Linked DNA regions of Homo sapiens: region 2 is linked to region 1. The links are contacts of gene promoters, found by promoter capture Hi-C in blood cells and fetal thymus (Javierre and others, 2016). All regions are on one chromosome and are shown on one strand. The core of a region is centred on a gene start or on the middle of the fragment in contact, and the rest is flanking DNA. Distances in the headings are between cores, read along the strand shown. Region 1 holds the start of HMCES (5-hydroxymethylcytosine binding, ES cell specific). Region 2 holds the start of RUVBL1-AS1 (RUVBL1 antisense RNA 1).

What was found. The method cuts DNA at HindIII sites, captures the fragments that hold promoters and counts their contacts. A CHiCAGO score of 5 or more calls a contact.
Region 2: the fragment with the promoter of RUVBL1-AS1 here is called in contact with the fragment with the promoter of HMCES in region 1 in 2 of 17 cell types (neutrophils and naive CD8 T cells); the score reaches 6.1 in neutrophils.

What each region holds. Positions count from the first base shown.
Region 1 is chr3:129,276,637-129,281,502 of GRCh38, forward strand. It overlaps HMCES (5-hydroxymethylcytosine binding, ES cell specific), which reads left to right and starts at 2,234. Exons shown (of 7, transcript NM_020187.3): 1 at 2,234-2,269; 2 at 3,074-3,279. The coding sequence starts at 3,097. It overlaps COPG1 (coat protein complex I subunit gamma 1), which reads left to right. Exons shown (of 24, transcript NM_016128.4): 24 at 658-1,137. The coding sequence ends at 788. RefSeq lists silencers at 2,089-2,438, 2,449-2,838 and an enhancer at 3,259-3,388. The HindIII fragment of the contact is 5,702 bases long and covers 2,008-4,866 here.
Region 2 is chr3:128,073,412-128,078,277 of GRCh38, forward strand. It overlaps RUVBL1-AS1 (RUVBL1 antisense RNA 1), which reads left to right and starts at 2,399. Exons shown (of 2, transcript NR_046645.1): 1 at 2,399-2,668. It also overlaps a transcript of RUVBL1 not described here and the pseudogene RNU2-37P. RefSeq lists silencers at 2,056-2,105, 2,116-2,555, 3,897-3,996. The HindIII fragment of the contact is 15,687 bases long and covers 1-4,866 here.

The sequences.
Region 1 (4,866 bases), core at 984-3,483:
GTGGTGGGGCTGTCCCCTTCATTTGTGCTCTCAGATTCAGTCAACGTGCAAGAGCCTCTGTGACATGAGATATAAGCCTTTTATGTCCATCAGTTCATTTGAACTTAGCAGAAGCCTGAAATATGGTATTATCATCCCTGCCACTTTGTAGTTGAGGATACTGAAGTCCTGAGAGACAGTGACTTTCTTTTTTTTTTTTTTTTTTGAGACGGAGTCTAGCTCTGTCACCCAGGCTGGCATGCAGTGGCACAATCTCTGCTCGCTGCAACCTCCGCCTCCCGGGTTCAAGCGATTCTCCTGCTTCAGCCTCCCGAGTAGCTGGGATTACAGGCGTCCACCACCATGCCCAGCTAATTTTCGTATTTTTAGTAGAGATGGGGTTTCACTGTGTTGGCCAGGCTGGTCTCGAATTCCTGACCTCATGATCTGCCCACCTCAGCCTCCCAAAGTGCTGGAATTACAAGCGTGAGCCACCGCGCCTGGCTGAGAGACAGTGACTTTCACAGTGAAATCCCTCACTCAGGGATTTCAGCCCAGCTCTCCTGCCCGTTTCACTACACCAGAGCTGCCTTCATGGGTTGCTGCAAATGCCATCCTTAGCCTGCCCTGTACAGTCCCTTCTGCTGTATATATCTGTACTTCTCTCTTCCCTTCTAGGTGTGTTCCGGGGTGGTCATGACATCCTGGTGCGCTCCCGGCTGCTGCTTTTGGACACAGTGACAATGCAGGTGACAGCCAGAAGTTTGGAGGAGCTGCCAGTAGACATCATCTTGGCATCTGTGGGATAAGAGGCCAGCCTGCATAGGACCTCATACCCTTCCCCAACACTACCTGGAAGTTGTGCCTTCCTCATGAAACTGGCAGAAACCCCTTCCCAAGCTTCTGTATTGAAAAACAATTAGGAATCATTGCAGATTTTTTTTTATTCTGCTCCCACCTCCCACCCGGGACTACTTGCTGGTGACTTTTTTTTTTTTTTTTTTTAAATAGGGGATGATTTTAGCTTGTCCTAAATCTTGCTGTCCACCCTTCCAGGAAAGGGACATTGTAAATGAATAAAACATTCTCAACTCCTCTTGAATCTATCCCCCAAGAAACCATCTTATCCCTGTAATAAATCAGCATGTATTTATTGAATGATTGCTACTTCTGCAGACTCATGCTTCAGGGCTCCACCTTCCCCTTCAAGGCCTCCCCTAAAGAGGCAGAACACCTGCCCTGTCCCCCTTGCACCCACAGCCCTTTGGCTGTTGTAGTCCTGTGAGGCAGGACCCTCTCCCCGTCATCGCTGTCCCAGCACCAAGCCCAGGGGTGGGAGCGGTAGAGGGTGGTTGAGTGAATCAGCTAACAGGCAGAGTTCACACTCCCTCCCGTTCGTGCTTCTTCACAACGCATCCTCCTTTGATAGTCGATAAATGGAGGCTCCAAAGGGCTTGGGTCCTGTGTCTGATCGTTCCAGCATCTGGTCTTACATGGAGTGTGCCCTGGGGTTTCTGCTCCCTGTTCAGTTCAGCGAATCAGCATAGGCGAACAGCCCTCTAGAGCATTCTCTGTTGGTTGCAGATGAAGAATCTCCGGTTTAGGTCCCAAGGGGAGCAGGCTTTTAAACTCAAGCCAGGCTATTTTACCAACTTTGAGGCCAAAGTACACCCGAAAGGGCTGTTTTAAAAATCTGGGCCTCACCCTTAGAGATTCAGCTGAGGGGCTGGGGCAGGAAAGGCTTATTCTAGTGCCCACCAATGTTTGAGGGCGAAGTGCGCGATTCCTGGAAGTTCTTCTGACTTTCATTTCTTCAGTGTTCCTCCATTTTTGCCTCGCACTGTGAGGCAGCTGGCAGGACTGTGAAGTAAGGAGTGGAGTTTCCTGGTTTCCCGCCTTCCATGACCCTGTGCCCTAGACTCAGCGCGGCGGGAACCTTCCCTGCCAGCCCTGAAACACGCTGGGGGCGGGGAGGAAGGTTAACCCCGCCAGGGAACGGCCAATATGGAGGAAAGTGGAGTCCCGAGAAGCTTGGGATCGATATGTCTCCCAAGGCAGTCACTGTCTCCTGGGGAAACGGGAGAAAATTCATCCCAAACCGGAGGGGAGAAGACGCCGCCTCCGGGGCCCGAGGGCACCGCGGGAACCAAGGGCCCTTGGGGGCGGGGCCTGGCGCCGGGAGCGCGGGCTGAGGCGGGGCTGACGTGAGGGGCGGTGACGCGGGTGGCCAAAGCGGAGCGGAGCGGGGGTGAGGAGAGTCGAGGGAGGTGACGCGCGCTGCCGGGGCGAGGTGAGGGGAGGGGAGGCGACGCGGGCGGTCGGGGTATGGCGAGGGGAGGGGAGGGGAAAGGAAGCGACGCGAGCTGACAGAGGGGAGCAGAGGCCCGAGCGGACGCGAGGCGACGCGGAGAGGGCGGCCTGGGCCGAAGTGAGGCGACGCGGGGCGGCGGAGTCTGAGGGCCGGAGCGGAGCGGAGGCGACGCGGGGAGGGGCGAGGGATCGCGGCCGGTGGCTGGGGGCCACCTGCTCCCCGAGCACCGGCCCCCGCTCCGGGGAGCAGAGTCCGGAGCGGGATCCGCGGCCCACAGGTTCGCAGGTCGGGCCCGGGGACGCTGCGGACTAGCGGGCGGGAGGCGGGGATTCTGCACCCCGGCCCCGGGCCGTCCAGTGGCCGCCCTCGAGGTGACCGGTTGCTGGCCGGCGTGGGTCGCTGACCCCAGCGGGGACTGGGGGGAAGGACGGGGAGTTGGGGGCACCAAGTCACCCGGAGGAGGCGACCCCAGCTAGCTGCGCTTGCCCTGCTTCGCTGGACTGTGAAGCCCCCTCCGCTGCGGCTCTTCCTGCGCTCAGGCAGGCATTTGCAGAGCTCCTCTCGGGACTTGCCTCAGTGCCCTGCACGGAGCTGGGCAGTGGGCTCAGGGAGCGAAGCAAACGGGCACATCCTTGTCTTTGTGGGACTTTTTGGGGAAGACTTTAGACGGTGGTCACGGAGGGGCACGGCCCTGTGGGAACGGAAAGAGAAGGCGGGGACTCAAGGAATAAGACCTAATATTTGAGATACGTAAGCCTTTTCCTTACGTTTTGTAATTTAAAGGTTGCGAGGGGCGGTGTTGAAGAATGTGTGGGCGAACATCCTGTCACTTACCTAGAGATGTTCTCACGAGAGCTTGCGCCTACCAGGATCGGCGGGGCCAGCAGCGGCTCCCGGAGTGGAGGGACCCTGATAAGTACTGCCCCTCTTACAACAAGAGTCCTCAATCCAACAGCCCAGTGCTTCTGTCTCGACTGCACTTTGAGAAGGTAACCAGCATTGCACTATGCTAGCCCCTCGCCCAGCCTCGTGATGGTCATCTCCTATTTGGTTTGGTGTGTGCTCAGCCTCTTGGGATGACATTAAAAACCAGCCTTTACTGATATATTCTGACTTCCAGTTGAGAACCTCTCTTGGCCTCATGAAAGAAGTTTTATCAGTGGCTTCTAACACTGATAAAGACGTATTTTTCAGGCTCAATTTAAATGCCTTTGCTATACATGGCATACTAGCCTTAATATATGCCAAATTTATATGAGCTTTGTGTTTTAAAATAGCAGCTTTCACTGATCATCAGGGTCATTGGAGTATCTTAAAAATATAATAAAAAAATTTAAGGCCAGGTGCCATGGCTCATGCCTGTAACCCCAGCACTTTGGGAAGCCGAGGTGGGAGGATCACTTGAGCCTAGGAGTTGGAGACCAGCCTGGGCAACATAGGGAGACCCCATCTCTACAAAAAATAAAAAAATGAGGTGGGAAGATCACTTGAGCTGGGGAGGTCGAGGCTTCATGAGCCATGGTTGTACCACTGCACTCCCACCTGGGTGACAGATCAAGACCCTGCCTAAAGAAAAAATTTAAAAAAATAAAAAATTTAAGAATATTTCTATGCCCTTTACCAGGCCAGCTTAATCAGACTTCTCTAGGCCTAGGACAGGCTTAAGATCAGTTAATTTAAAACACTTCTGATGTTTCTTGAGCATTGAAAAGTTTTATTCTTTCTGCTTGTGTTTTCAATCTTTTTGTGTTTGTCTTTTACTAAGGCTAGAAACACGTATTTGGTTTGGTTATCTGAAGTTTAATTGCATTCATTGTGTTTATAGTATTTATCCCTGTAGTGTTGGAATTACCAGTCACTTACATTCATATTTTAGTTTTTTGCCTTATCTCCTGAAAGTGTGTGTGTCTTTGTATGTGTGTGTAATAAAAATGCTTCGTTCTAGAAAGTAATAGTTTCTCCATGTCTTAAATATTTTAAATGACCTTGACATGTTTTTAAAAATCGTGATTGTTGGCTGGGCACGGTGGCCCACGCCTGTAATCCTAGCACTTTGGGAGGTGGAGGCGGGCGGATCACGAGGTCAAGAGATCGAGACCATCCTGGCCAACATGGTGAAACCCTATCTCTACTAAAAATACAAAAATTAGCTGAGTATGGTGGCACGCACCTGTAGTCCCAGTTACTTGGGAGGCTGAGGCAGGAGAATCACTTGAACCTGGGAGGTGGAGGTTGCAGTGAGCTGAGATTGCACCACTGCACTCCAGCCTGGCGGCAGAGCGAGACTCCATCTCAAAAAAAAAAAATTGTGATTGTTTCCTTCCTGAATTTTGACTGTATTTGATTCATAATGCTGAAATCACTTTATAAAGTTGATTATACCTCTGGTACATACTCTTTAAACTTTTGTGATAATATGATAGTCAAAAAGGACTCATTTCTGCATTATAGGGAATCACATCATTTTGAAATAAAGATAACAGGCTGGGCATGGTGGCTCACACCTGTAATCCTAGCACTTTGGGAGGCCAAGACGGCTGGACCACCTGAGGTCAGGAGTTCGAGACCAGCCTGGC
Region 2 (4,866 bases), core at 1,149-3,648, 1.2 Mb before region 1:
GCCTCCCATCTCATTTCTGAGGGGTCTGAGCCCCATGGCCTGGGGAAGAGCAACGGATTCCTGATGAGGGCCAGGGGATGGGCATGTGGCACTGTCCGAGAGTCAGCAAAAGCCCCAACCTGAGCTTCAGCACCTACCAATGCCTGGTTCTGGAGAGCCAGGTGTGCCCCTAAGTGGTAGTGCCCACCTCACTCCCCTGCCCCAATCCCTTCTAGGGCCACATTACCCACTCCTTTCCACTCAGCAAACATTATTGAGCCTCATGGGGAAATGGAACAGAAGGTGCCTCTCCTCTTAAAAGCTCATGCCCCAGCAGTAAGGGTTCTGCAGTGTCTGTCAAACCTGTGGGCCTTGTTCCCTCTGCTGTCTGCCTGACAAGCTCCTGTTCATCCTTCAAAGCACAGCTCAATAAGGCTAGAAACATCTAAATGCCCATCGGAGGGGGCTGAATAAATTACAGCAGCTCCTCCCTGTGGAAAGGAACTAGGAGGACATTCTTTATATGTTGAGTTAGAAGAATCTCCAAGATATGCTGTCAAGGAAGAATACAGAAAGCAAGAAACAATAGCGTATGCTACCATTTGTGTTTAAAAGGGGGGTAGGAAGTGACTAATAGACTACATCAGGAAAAGGTGTAGCAATTTCCCATAAAACTAGACATACACTTACCCTACACCCAGCTATTCTACTCCTGGGTATTGAAACCCAAGATGAAAATATATGCCTATACAAAGACTTGTACAAGAATGTTCATAATAGCTGAAAAATAGGGAACAGCCTAGGTGGCCATCAACAGGCAAATGGATACATGTGGTGGATCCACAGGGTGGCATTTTACCCAGCAATAAAAAATAAACTATCCATACACACAACATTCAGGAGCTCAAAAGCTAAGTGAAAGAAACAAGTCATGTTGTATGATGCCATTTACATGAAATTCTAGAGCAGGAAAACCTAATCTATTGCAAAAAAAAAAAAAATTCTAACAGTGGTTGCCTCTAGTGTGTTAGAGATTGGCACAAGGAACTTTCTGGGCAATAGTAATATCCTTCACTGGGATTTGGGTTTCATTAGTCAGAACTCATGGAGTGCTCCACTTAGGATTTGTACATTTCACTGTATTTTTAACGTTTAAAAATAACCATAAGCAGCCGGGCACAGTGGCTCATGCCTGTAATTCTGGCACTGTGGGAGGCCAAAGCAGGTGGATCACCTGAGGTCAGGAGTTCAAGACCAGCCTGACCAACATGGAGAAACCCCATCTCTACTAAAAACACAAAATTAGCTGGGTGTGGTGGCATGCGCTTATAATCCCAGCTACTTGGGAGGCTGAGGCAGGAGAATCACTTGAACCCGGGAGGCGGTGGTTGCAGTAAGCTGAGATGGCGCCATTGCATTCCAGCCTGGGCAACAGGAGCGAAACTCCGTCTCAAAAAAAAAAAAAAAAAAAAAAACTTAAAAAACCATAATCAAGTACTGAACTCTAGATAATTATACACATGCTTAACTATTTACAGAGGTTGTTGTATCTGCAACTCACTTTGAAATGCACAGAAGACTGACAAGACTGACTGGCAGGCAGACAGGGGGATGGGCAGTGCAGTGCCTAGATGACAGGGATATGGGGGCTCACCTGCAATCCTTTTTTTTTATTCCCCCAAAGGGGGTGCACTATTCCTGGAGGTACTGCAATACCAGGTGGATGCATGGAGTGGAAAGAGCAAGGTCCTATTCCATCTCCCTGCTCCAAAAATCCATTTAACATACTGTCCTCAGATAGCAGATATTAAAGTGATAAGAACACTACACTTGATCTTAGCCAAAGGCTGAGAGGCGATTGCCTGTAATTCTTGCAGTTTTCCATGTGATATGTTTCATAATGAGTGTTGGGAAGGTCCTGTGAGTGTGTGCTGCCTCACCCAGGTCCTGGCCATCTCTAGAGGAACACACCGGTGTAAGGCAGGCGCTTCCGGAAAGGGAACAGGAGGCAGGGGGCAGGTGTCGAGGTAGGTTTTCACGGTACACGCCTTTGGCAATTTTGCATCAAAAAACTAAGTGTATGCACATTTTTTTTAATTGAAAGCCCAACTCAGCCTTCCCCCACTGCTCCTTCCCCGCATGCACGGGGGGACACACGCCTTCCTCCCTGCCTGCCGGGACTTCAACCTCGCTTGCTGGGAAGTCGCGCACTTTCGTCGCGACTTCCCAAGTCGTGCTGGGTGTGACTTGGAATCTCGGATCCCTGGGCTAGGCCTGGCCACGCCCCCATGGGGGGAGGGGCAGCGCGGCGGGGGCGGAGCCTGGGCCCGAAACGCCACGGGCGCGACTCTGTGCGCGTCCGCCCACACGGGGGCGCTGTGTCCTCGCAAGCTCCCGCGGGGTGCCTCGCGGCCCTGGAACGCTGTGGTTTTCGAGGGGAAAAGTGAGAGTGGCTGGTCCTGCCTCCGCTGCCGCTTGGCCCTGAGATCCCCACTGCCCACGGGATAGGCCCCAGTCCACCCAGCCGGGGCCCCCCCCTTCCCCTCGTCTCGCTCTCCTTGGCAGTTCGGACTTCGGGTCAGTCCCACACTCGCGCCCGGCTGTCCCTGCTGCGCTCCTGTCACTGGCATTGGGAAGCCCTCCGGCCCCCTCTCTGCACACCTGGCACACGGCTCCTCCCTGGCGGCATGTGGGTATTTGGGTTGGGCGAGCCTCTCCCTCCCGATTCCCGAGTTCCGAGTGGGTCCCGGCGGACCAGCGCTATTCTGGAGGGGCAGTGCCTCAGAGGCAGGTCGCTTCGAGTGGGGATTTGTGCGCTCTGGCGCGGAGGAGGGGGGTGGGAAGCCGGCTCTTGCCCTCCTCACCCGGTGGGGAGCGAGCAGGGCCAACGGTGCGCTGAGAGCGCTCAGGGCGTCCCCAACAGCATGACCCGACCCAGGGACGAAGCTCTGGGGGACGGGACCACTTGCGATGACAGCTAAAGGAGCACAGGGGGGCGGCCGGCATGGAGAGGCGGGGCCGGCATTCCTGCGGGCCTGCCGGGAGGGTGGGGAACCTGGGATTTAGCCATGGGACCTGTGGAAGGGTTTTGGGTCGGGGTCCTGACCGTCTAGTCTGGGTTCTCAAAGATGGTTGGGACAGTGGGCAGGCTTGCAAAGACCGAAGAGGCTGGTGGACCTGGTGGCTGAGGCCTAGGCCAGGCAGGGATCGCGGTGGGGAGGTCACAGTAGGTGTGGTCCCTCCTCCCCCCACCCCTCAGGCCTAAGTCACTCAGGCCCTTGTGTCACGGTGGCACCGGGACCTCCACCCACTACATACACACGCGCGCGCGCAGCCCCGTGAAAACCTGCGCCGTGTGCCCCAGACCTGCAGCCCGCATCCCGCCGTGTCCCCCGTTCCCTGCATGCGGCTCCAGTGTAAGTGCAGCGTGCCGTGTGCGGCGTCCCAGCCCGCACCCCGCACCCCACCATGTCCCTCTGGGTGCGGGGTCCGCATGCCCGCGCCCTCCCCGCAGCTGCCGGCGTCCCCATTAATCACGCGGCGCTGACGGCGCTGATCTGCGTGCTGGCGGCGTGACGGTGACGGTGACGGCGGGTGACGGAGCGGGCAATCGGCAGGCGCCCATCGGCCCATCTTATCGCGGCGGCCCAGCCGCCGCCCGCTGCGCGCCGCCCATTGATCGCGCCGGGCCCCTGCCCGGGGGTCAGCGCGGGCCGGGCCGGCCTGACAGCCGCATCCGTCGCCGAGACGCGCGCTGATGGCCGCCCAGCCCGCACGGCCTGGCCATTAATCACCGTGCCTGCCGCCAAGTGACGGGAGGGGCGGCAGGGCAGCAGGGGACGACAGGCAGCCCCCGTGGCCGGCCCACCCCTTCACAGTTCCGGGGCCCTGCTGCGTGGCCCGCCCTGCACCCTAAGCTCCCCAGCCCCCCTGCCCAGGCCTCCCTCACCCCCTATCCTCTTATGGCCTGCTCTCCCCAGAACAAATGGAAGGGGAGTGGCTGCATACTGGAGGAAGCAAGAAAGAGGAACTTCTGTGTGGAGAATGAATGGATGACCACGGATGAAGGGGGTGAACACTGTTCTACCTCCCGAGGGACCTCTTTCCCAGACACCAAATGAGAGCAGGTCTGACCTGACAAACACCAGCACTGGCTGGGACAAGGGGGTGGTCATTTCGCCCCCTCTGGCTGCCTCAGCCCTAGCTGAGCCTCACCCAGGATGGGATGCTAGGGCCCCAGTGAGAAGCAGTGCGTTGTTTCTGGCAGTTGCCCCGTGCTACCCCCTCTGCTCTTGGGCTGTGTGGCCCTGAGCCAGTGCTGGCCCCTCTGGGCTACAGGGCTTTTTCCAAACACAGGGGGATCCTAAGGGTCCTTCCAAGTGCCAGCTGTCTGCGATAGGGAGGGGCAGGGCCTAGCAGGCTGCTTCCTCCAGTTTGACAAACTGTGACCTCTTTCCAAGTGGGCCAGGAATCAGGAACTCTTTACTGCCTCTTAGTCTCTTGGGTACCTGATACAGCTACATGTGGGTCACTTCACCAAGTCCTCACATGGGTCTATGGGATATGAACTTCCCACTCACACACCAGGAAACCAAAGACTCATGGGGCTAGGACCAAGGGCCACACAGAGGAGGAAAATGCAATCAATACCATGCCCTGCTGAGCCCCAGAACCCCTGGGTCCCCTCCCACTGCTCCTCTGCCCACAGCCCTCCAGAGCAGGGCCTTCTTGGGGTACCCCAGCTGCTCTGCCCAGGGCTGGCCAGTTTCTGAGGGATAGAGGTCGACTGGGAGTGCAACCCCAGCCCCCTTCTGTACCCCCATTTTATTACACAAATGGCTAAGGTTTGCTAACCAAGAAGTCACTCTCTGGTGTGACAGCATGATT